2 separate regions of the Homo sapiens genome follow, and region 1 is linked to region 2. The links are contacts of gene promoters, found by promoter capture Hi-C in blood cells and fetal thymus (Javierre and others, 2016). All regions are on one chromosome and are shown on one strand. The core of a region is centred on a gene start or on the middle of the fragment in contact, and the rest is flanking DNA. Distances in the headings are between cores, read along the strand shown. Region 1 overlaps CDCA8 (cell division cycle associated 8). Region 2 holds the start of DNALI1 (dynein axonemal light intermediate chain 1).

Evidence for each region. The method cuts DNA at HindIII sites, captures the fragments that hold promoters and counts their contacts. A CHiCAGO score of 5 or more calls a contact.
Region 1: a contact is called between a fragment that was not itself captured here and the fragment with the promoter of DNALI1 in region 2, in 2 of 17 cell types (fetal thymus and monocytes). The highest score is 5.6, in fetal thymus.

The regions. Positions count from the first base shown.
Region 1 is chr1:37,698,612-37,703,512 of GRCh38, forward strand. CDCA8 (cell division cycle associated 8) reads left to right here. Exons shown (of 10, transcript NM_001256875.2): 4 at 294-366; 5 at 1,825-1,910; 6 at 3,143-3,207; 7 at 4,641-4,736. Among named protein-coding and RNA genes, the nearest start is that of CDCA8, 8.5 kb to the left of the region's middle. The HindIII fragment of the contact is 3,522 bases long and covers 1-3,043 here.
Region 2 is chr1:37,554,802-37,559,191 of GRCh38, forward strand. DNALI1 (dynein axonemal light intermediate chain 1) reads left to right here and starts at 2,139. Exons shown (of 6, transcript NM_003462.5): 1 at 2,139-2,274; 2 at 2,802-2,947. The coding sequence starts at 2,194. It also overlaps the pseudogene RPS27P9. RefSeq lists enhancers at 746-1,716, 1,927-2,221. The HindIII fragment of the contact is 2,071 bases long and covers 913-2,983 here.

The sequences.
Region 1 (4,901 bases), core at 33-2,532, 140 kb after region 2:
ATGATATGGTTACCCCTGGGGAATGAAGGATTAGGAGACTCATCACCTTTGGAAGAAGAGATAAGAAAATGGAACAAGGAATGAATACAGAGCCAGAAGCAAGTTATTGGCAATGTTTTAGGTCTTGGGCTGTGTGGTGGGTTTATGGGAGTTTGCTATATTGTATATTGTATCACTAACATTTAACAGTCTTATGTATTAAATAATAGTTTTAAAAAAGTTTTTATCTTGAAATATTGTTCCTCATATTTTGGTGGAATAAGCCTGGTGCTTTCTGGCTATGTTTGTCATAGGCTGACCTGGATATCACCGAAATAAACAAACTAACAGCAGAAGCTATTCAGACACCCCTGAAATCTGCCAAAAGTGAGTACCTTTCAAAACTCCTTGTTGTACAGAAAGAACTGAGGCTCAGGTTGCTTGGTTGGCTGCTCAGGCAGCGCCTTGTTGGTAGAGCCTCTTCCCTTTAATGTCTGGTTCTTAATCTTGTAAATCCAAAAACTTGCTTTTGGATGGTGCATTTAGTTAATTTTTTTTCCCCCGAACAGCAATTCAAACCAGAAATTTAGTTAATTTTAGGCAGGACTGCTAAAAACCAAACTCAAGACCCGTGTGCGAGCTAAAATGAAAGTGAAAAAAGGGGGGAAAAAAGCTGTGCTAGAAACCAAACATTGTTGCCTGCTTACTTTCTCCTGGGTTAAATAGATGACAAGATTTAGAGAGGTGTTAAAAGACTGGTAACACCAACTGAGACGCTCCCTGATGTAATCAACAAAGTTGAAAGCGAATTGAAAAAGGAATGACTTTCTCTGCATATAATTCAAAATTACTCAATTCAGGCCAGGTGCGGTAGCTCACGCCTGTAATCCCAGCACTTTGGGAGGCCAAGCTGTGAGGATTACTTGAGCCCAGGAGTTCAAGACCAGCCTGGGCAATGTAGTGAGACCTTGTCTCTGAAAAAAAAAAGAAAGAAAGAAAGGAAAGGAAAGGAAAGGAAAGGAAAGGAAAGGAAAAAAAAAGTTACTCAGCTAGGCGTGGTGGCTCACGCCTGTAATCCAAGCACTTTGGGAGGCCGAGGTGGGTGGATCACGAGGTCAGGAGTTCGAGACCATCCTGGCTAATACGGTGAACCCCCGTCTCTACTAAAAAATACAAAAAATTAGCCGGGCGTGGTGGCGGGCGCCTGTAGTCCCAGCTACTTGGGAGGCTGAGACAGGAGAATGGCGTGAACCCGGGAGGTGGAGCTGGCAGTGAGCTGAGATCATGCCACTGCACTCTAGCCTGGGCGATAGAGCGAGACTCTGTCTCAAAAAAAAAAAAAAGTTACTCAATTCCATGATCTATCCACATAAAATCATCTTACATACATGTCCCGCACTCTGAGAAACACTGTCTTATAGGAAAAGTTGTATGGGAAACCAGGTTTTGACTAGTGAGCAAGGAATCGGATCAGGATGAATTGTGACATGGACTTAATGTCACTGTCATTAAGCTATGATAGTTTGATGCATCCAATTCTTATAAGAACATCCTGACCCATGGCCAGGATTTCGGGGCTACACACCAGGGCACGCTCTACAGTAGGCAGGGCAAGCTCAATTATTCAGAATGCTGGGCTGTCCCTACAAAGCATCATATGGGGTCTCTTAACACTCTGGTTAGTTTCCTTTGTCTAAACCCTCTTTCTTAAAAAGTCTTCTTTATTTTTAGTCCATTTCTTCCTTGCAGCTTAAGATTGTGTACATTTTATTCCTATAAGAAATGTGAATGCACAAAACTTTATTTTCATCAGAAATACCACCCTGTTGAAACTGTTTCTTACAGCACGAAAGGTAATACAGGTAGATGAAATGATAGTGGAAGAGGAAGAAGAAGAAGAAAATGAACGTAAGAATCTTCAAACTGCAAGAGTAAGTGGACACTGAGGTTGGAGGCTGGGGGTTATCACAAGACAAGCAAATACAAATGCATAAAATACACTGTTGTACACCAGAGCTCACAGTTTAGTAGAGATGATCCTACTTTACATGGCAATGACAAAAGAGATAATTGACTGGTGTGCAAAGTGTGTAGAACACAGAAGAGGAAGCTAGCAAGCCTCCCCTACCCCACTAGGACATAGACAGGCCTTTCAAGGTGAGTGAGAGTCTACTAGCTAGAGAAGAAAGGGAAGAGGAACAGTATTCAGGATAGATGGGGGAGGCGGAAAACTGAAGATGAGGAAACCAGTTAGAAGCCTATGAATTCTTGAACTGACATGCTGACACTATAGAATGAAGGGATGGTTTTTAGATAGGTTTTAGAAAGAAGTGGCATGGTTGGTGGAGAAAAGGAGGAATCAGAGACAACTGCATGGTTTCTAGCTAAGGCAAATGCTATCCAGTGAGGTGTGGGACCCAGGTGGCAGAGGGTGCTGGACTGGGGGTGGTGGAGCACATGCCAATTGCATGACATGTTGACCATTCATTACTTTTCCAGGACATCTAGGCTAGACAGAAATTTCAGCCTGGAGCTCAGGGAGAAGAGGGAGATTTGAGAGATACACTGCCTCCCAGATCTTTAGGTGTTTGTCCCAGTGTGGGAGTGGAGATGGTTGTGCAGGGAGAGCAGGAAGGGAGGGAGTCAGGGTGGACACTAGAGGGAGGGTAGAGAGAGGAGCTCCTAAGGCAGACTGCCAAGGAAGTTAGAGAAGCAGGAAAGACAGATCCATCACGGAGGACAAGGGAGGAGAGAATATATGGAAGATAAGGAGTGATTCTTGCCAGGGACCTCCCAGGCCCCAGGAAGGGAGCACTGCAGGGTTTGCCTTTGATTGGGCACCTGGGACGCCCTGAGTGACCTTCACAGCAGCCCTTTATGTAAAGTAGTGGGGTACAAGCCAGGCTGCAATCAGTTCAAAAGAGATTTACCTTTAATCTTGGTCAAAATCCTCTATTTTGAAAACCCAGCCAGTGGAAGTCCTTATTCAATTAGTTATGTTCTGAACTTTTTAAGTCATTGAATTCTGAGATACACCTTATTATATTTAGTATTAACTATCCAAAGCTTGTTCTTAATGCTTTAAAAAAAAAAAAAAAACCCTCCTTACCTTCCTCTTTGCTGGGTTTTTTGTAACCTTAGTCTCATTTGATTGTGACTGCAGGTCAAAAGGTGTCCTCCATCCAAGAAGAGAACTCAGTCCATACAAGGAAAAGGAAAAGGGAAAAGGTAGTGGATTTTCTAAAGTTGTGGTGTTTTGGGTTTTATTGGAGAGCCATATATATCATGGCAGAAAGTGAGGGGCAGTGAAAAGGCTCTGGTGGCTAGTGTTTGAAAGCAGCTTAAAATCACTGAATCCTTGAGTATCCAAGCTGGAGGGGTCTCTAGAAATGACCTAAACCAAAACCATCTCCAGTACTTTAATGTACATTCTCTATCCTTCCCCACTTTTTTTTTTTTTTTTTTTTGAGACGGAGTTTCAATCTCGTTGGCCAGGCTGGAGTGCAATGGTGCAATCTTGGCTCACTGCAACTTCTGCCTCGCGGGTTCAAATGATTCTCCTGCCTCAGCCTCCCGAGTAGCTGGGATTATAGGCATGTGCCACCATGCCGGCTAATTTTGTATTTTTAGTAGATGCGGGGTTTCTCCATGTTGGTCAGGCTGGTCTTGAACCCCCGACCTCAGGTGATCCACCCACCTCAGCCCCCACTTTTTTTTTTTAAGTATAGCAAGAACTGCCTGTTATGTTTCAGTTCCTGATAGTCCATATGTAGAGCTACCCCATAGCTCGTCATAGAGTGGCTGTCACTTACCTATAATTGGTTTCTTGAAATGTTTTGTCCAGTCCTGCAAAGTGAAGAACCTCTATGGGCTTGAGTTGATTATACTGGACTCTACCATAAGCCATGTGGGGGAAGGTACAGCAGCTTAGGAGAGTAGTCACCGGGATGCATGTCTGTGGAGGAGCGAACTCATTTCTCTTGAGCAGTGCAGCAGCTGCCTGGCACAAGGACAGAATTCCAGCTGGGGGAGCCTTCGCATGAAGAGGCTGTCTCCTTGATTAAAAAGTCAGATTCTGAGGCTGAGTGTGGTGTCTCACACCTGTAATCCCAGCACTTTGGGAGGCCAAGGCAGGTGGATCACTTGAGGTCAGGAGTTTGAGACCCGCCTGGCCAACATGGTGAAACCCTGTCTCTACTAAAAATACAAAAATTAGCCAGGTGTGGTGGTGCATGCCTGTAGTTCCAGCTACTCGGGAGGCTGAGGCAGGAGAATCGCTTGAACCCAGGAGGTGGAGGTTGCAGTGAGCCAAGATTACGCCATTGCACTCCAGCCTGGGCAACAGAGCAAGACTCCGTCTCAAAAAAAAAAAAAAAAGTCAGATTCTGGAGGCAGACTACTTTGGTTCAAAGTTTTGGCTCCATCCTAATTGGATATGTGATCTTGGGCAAGTTTTTAAAACTTGATGCACCTGAGTTTCTGCATCTGTGTATGAGGATGGCAGCAGTGCTGGCCTCCCGTGTTAGAAGGGTCACGTGAGTCGATGTGTGCGAGGCGCCCGGAGCAGTATCTCACAGTCAGCTCTCCACGTGTCACTCCTCTGCTGCTGCCTTCGTGGAACCTGAGAGTTGGCATACCTGATGGCCATTTCTTACCTGTAGGTCAAGCCGTGCTAACACTGTTACCCCAGCCGTGGGCCGATTGGAGGTGTCCATGGTCAAACCAACTCCAGGCCTGACACCCAGGTTTGACTCAAGGTGAGTATCGAGGGAAACACTTGGATTTGATGGGACTCCAACATTGAGCACTACCCAGAGAAGGAGTGTCTAAGAAAATACTCCTAGGCCAGGCACGGTAGCTCACGCCTGTAATACCAGCACTTTGAGAGGCCGAGGCAGGCGGATCACTTGAGGTCAGGAGTT
Region 2 (4,390 bases), core at 889-3,388:
GAAACAATGTAAATACCAGCAGTAGGGAAGTTAGCCAAATTAATGGGTGTTATGTGGCCATTAGTAAACCATTTACAAACTTTAAAAACCCTGACTTGTTAACGATAAAGCAGGATACAAAATTGTGTGCAAACTATAATTACATTTACATTTGGAAATAGAAGGGAGGAAGAAATGGAAATGCAATCAGAGATGATAACCCATGGGCAAATCATTAGCTTTTCAAATCATTAGCTTTTCCTCTTCTATTTCCTGAACTTTCTGCAATGCTGTTGGGGCTCAGAAACCAAAACCCCAAAATACGGCTCACTGACAAGCTGAACTGAAGAAGCCTCAATGTTCCTTTCCAGTGCCCATCATCTCTCCCAAAGCACAGGTCTTTATCTGCCTAAGATCCAGACTACCAAAAGGAATAATTGTTTCTTTCTTCTCCACCCAAGAATGTAATCACACCTGACCAGAGACCCTTATACTGTCAAAAGTAGCTATTTACAGCCGAGCACGGTGGCTGCAGCCTGTAATTCCGGCGCTTTGGGAGGCCAAGGCAGGAAAATCGCTTGAAGCCAGGAGTTTGAGACCAAACTGCCTAACATAGCAAGACTGTCTCTACAAAAAAATTAAATTTGGCAGGGGCTAGTGGCTCGTGCCTGTGGTCCCAGCAGAGACAGGAGGATCGCTTGAGCCCAGGAGTTGGAGGCTGCAGTGAGCCGTGATGGCACCACTGCACTCCAGCCAGGGCTACAGAGTGAGACCCTGTCTTCAAAAAAACCAAACCAAAACAAAAAAAAAAACACAAAAAACTATTTACAAATTTATCTCTGTTCCCTTATTCATTCATTCTGCCTAGTAATCCCTGAACAGAATTCCTCCTTCTCCCACCCTCACAAACCTGTTTTACCAGGAGGGTATATAAGCTTCTGAACCCTTTTCGGGGTGGGTAATCATACTGTGATTCTCCCCGTGTATACATTTTAAATACATTTGTATGCCTTTTCTCCAATTAATCTGCCTTTTGTGAATTGATTTTTGAGCGAATCTTCAGGGGGCAAAGGGGAGGTTTCCCATTGGCTCCTACTTTGTCATTTCTCCATTTAATTAGAAAAATACTTCAGGCTGGGCGCGGTGGCTCACGCCTGTAATCCCAGCACTTTGGGAGGCCGAGGCAGGCGGACCACGAGGTCAGGAGTTCGAGACCAGCCTGGCCAACGTGGTGAAACCCCGTCTCTACTAAAAATACAAAATTTAGCCGGGCATGGGGGCACGCGCCTGTAGTCCCAGCTACTCAGAAGGCTGAAGCAGGAGAATCGTTTGAACCCGGGAGGCGGAGGTTGCAGTGAGCCGAGATCACGCCACTGCACTTCAGCCTGGGCAACAGAGAGAGACTCCGTCTCAATTTAAAAATCAAAACAAGCCCTTTCTTGCGGTGACGACCTACCCACGAGAACATGCCTCTCGCAAAGGATCTCCTTCATCCCTCCCCAGAAGAGGAGAAGAGGAAACACAAGAAGAAACGCCTGGTGCAGAGCCCCAATTCCTACTTCATGGATGTGAAATGCCCAGGATGCTATAAAATCACCACAGTCTTTAGCCATGCACAAACGGCAGTTTTGTGTGTTGGCTGCTCCACTGTCCTCTGCCAGCCTACAGGAGGAAAAGTAAGGCTTACAGAAGGATGTTCCTTCAGGAGGAAGCAGCACTAAAAGCACTCTGAATCAAGATGAGTGGGAAACAATCTCAATGAACACATTTTGGGAACAACTACAACAACAAAAAAAACCTTCAAAAAACCTAGGAACTCCAGATGACTTCCTTTGGGAATTGTCCCTTAACCCTTCATGAGAAGTCAGGAGATGACTCCTGTTTTTCAGGTGACAAAATTGGAGCATGGCAAAGGTGATCTGCCCACTTCAAATCGCTAGCTAGACGGAGCATAGGGACTCGAACTGCCGTTTTCCTCGCCTCCAAGAGTACAGGGACGAACCGGTGAGCAGAAGGCCTAAGAAGTCAGGCACAAGAGGTTTCTGCCCAGGAGGCACAGAATGAAACTTGCCGGCTGTTGGCCCCGCCCCACTTCGAAGCTCCGCCCAGGCCAAGAAGCGCGGGGGCGGGAGTGAGGGGGCGGTTTCCATGGTGACGGCAAACAAGGCCCACACTGGACAGGGCAGCTGCTGGGTTGCTACTCTCGCCTCCGCCATGATTCCGCCCGCAGACTCTTTGCTCAAGTACGACACCCCAGTGCTGGTGAGCCGGAACACGGAGAAACGGAGCCCCAAGGTAAAGACGGGGGCTCGGGAGACAAAGGAGCCTCGAAACTCCGATAGGGAAAGACACATTCCCGCATGGAGGGTCAGGAATCTCAAGGGACGGGGATTGCAGCGACTGGGAGTAAAGGGAATTGGGAAGTCAGAGAAGGAGGGTGAGAGGATTGTATAGGAAGCCCAGATGTTGGGTGTGACCCCAGAGGGCAGATTTAGGATGGGGAAGGAGGTCACAGGGAGATGGATGGGGCTCACTCTTCTTAATGGTACGCGGGTCCAAGAACAGATGACTAGGTAGTGATTTCCCCATCACCAGAGGTGTGAAAGCACATGCGCCAGAAACACCTGTTCAAGCATTGAGTTGGGGCCAGACTTCATGGCCTCCTTCAGCTCTGTGACATAATTTCTGCTGAGAAGACCGACCCAAAGTAGGCTAGGAAGAGGGGAGGGCTGTGCAGAAGACCTGGAGCAATATACAGGTTGGGGATGTGTGGAGCTGAGCTCCTGAACAATTTCCTGCCCTCACCTGTGCCTTCATCTCAGGCTCGGCTACTGAAAGTCAGCCCCCAGCAGCCTGGACCTTCAGGTTCAGCCCCACAGCCACCCAAGACCAAGCTCCCCTCAACTCCCTGTGTCCCAGATCCTACAAAGCAGGCAGAAGAAATCTTGAATGCCATACTACCCCCAAGGTAAGAAAGTAGGAGCAGTGGCTGGGAGAAGGCCTAAGCTTTTACATCGTGGATTTTGGGAGTGTGGGGGGAGGCACTCTGCCTCTGTTCCTGGCTGGGGTTTCCTCCCAGTATCACAGAGCTCCTAGAACTTACATATGGCTGGATCCTGGCAGGGTGGTGGGAGACCTCTTCTCAATCTACCCTCATTTCCTGCATGCTGTCACCCAATCTCATGGCTTTAGATACCACCTATGTGCTGATGGCTCCCAAATGTGTATTTCCAGCCCTGTCTTCTCCACTAAACTCCAGGACCATATAGTCTTCTGCTTCCTCATTATCTTCATGAAGATATCTAATAGACATCTCAAACTCAATATATTCAAACTAAATCACAATTTCTTCCTTCCCCAATCTGCTCATCCCCCGTATTCTCCTTTTTACTAGGGACTCAAACCACCTTTCATTCCTTTTGATCACTCTCACAGCATGTGTCCTATCCTTCGTCACATTCTTTTGGCTCCACCTTCAAATTCTTTCCCAAATCCAACCACTTTTCACCACCTCTGCTTCCACCATCTTGCTCCTAGTCACTGGTGGCCACTCGCACTGCTGCAGTGGCCTCCTATCTGAAAACACTGCTTCCACTCTGCTCCTAGAATCTATCCTCCATACAGCCCCTAAGTCATAAGTCAGATCATGCCAGTCTCTGCCAGAAACTCTTTTGTGGCTTCCCATCTCAGACTAAAATCAAAAATCCTTACAATGGCCTGGAAGATGTGGCATGATCTGGCCTACGATGTATCCCTGACCTTATCTCCTGTTATTCTGTTTCTTGTTCACTGTGCTGAATCCACAGGGACCTCACTTGCTATTTCTGAAATGCCTCATTCACTCTCCTACCACAGGGCCCTGACAGCTGGTGTTTTCACTGCCAAAGATGTTCTCCCCTTGATATTCTCCTGGTTCCTTTCATTTCTTCCAGGCCTTCCTTGAGAATTTGCTATAGCAGAGCACCCCTGCCCAACATGATCTCCTTTTCTTGCTTTTTTCTTCTGCAGCCACATTGATAAAAGGACATGCCTTTTCATCTATTTTTATGTAATAAGTTGACAGCACAGTTGGTAAGGCTATGAGGAAAAGGGAAATGGGGGCCTACGCAGGCACACACCTTCATGAACCTCTCCACCCCGATACACACATCTGCCTCTTTCTGGCTCGCACAAGGTTCATGATGTCCTGTGTTTCCCACCCCGTAAGTTGGTGGGTAGTTCCTACTGTTCACATCAAGCAACAACCATAAATCGGTCTTCAGCATGTTAGGAGGGTAAGATCTGGAACAGTGGGGAATGATTTCACAGAGGCCCGTTGCCAAGGTGGAAATTGTCTACCACCTACCCATTCCCAAGATCCCTGTGGAGGCAGCATAGTGGGTGTGGCTTTGGAGCCTCACACCCCAAGGGA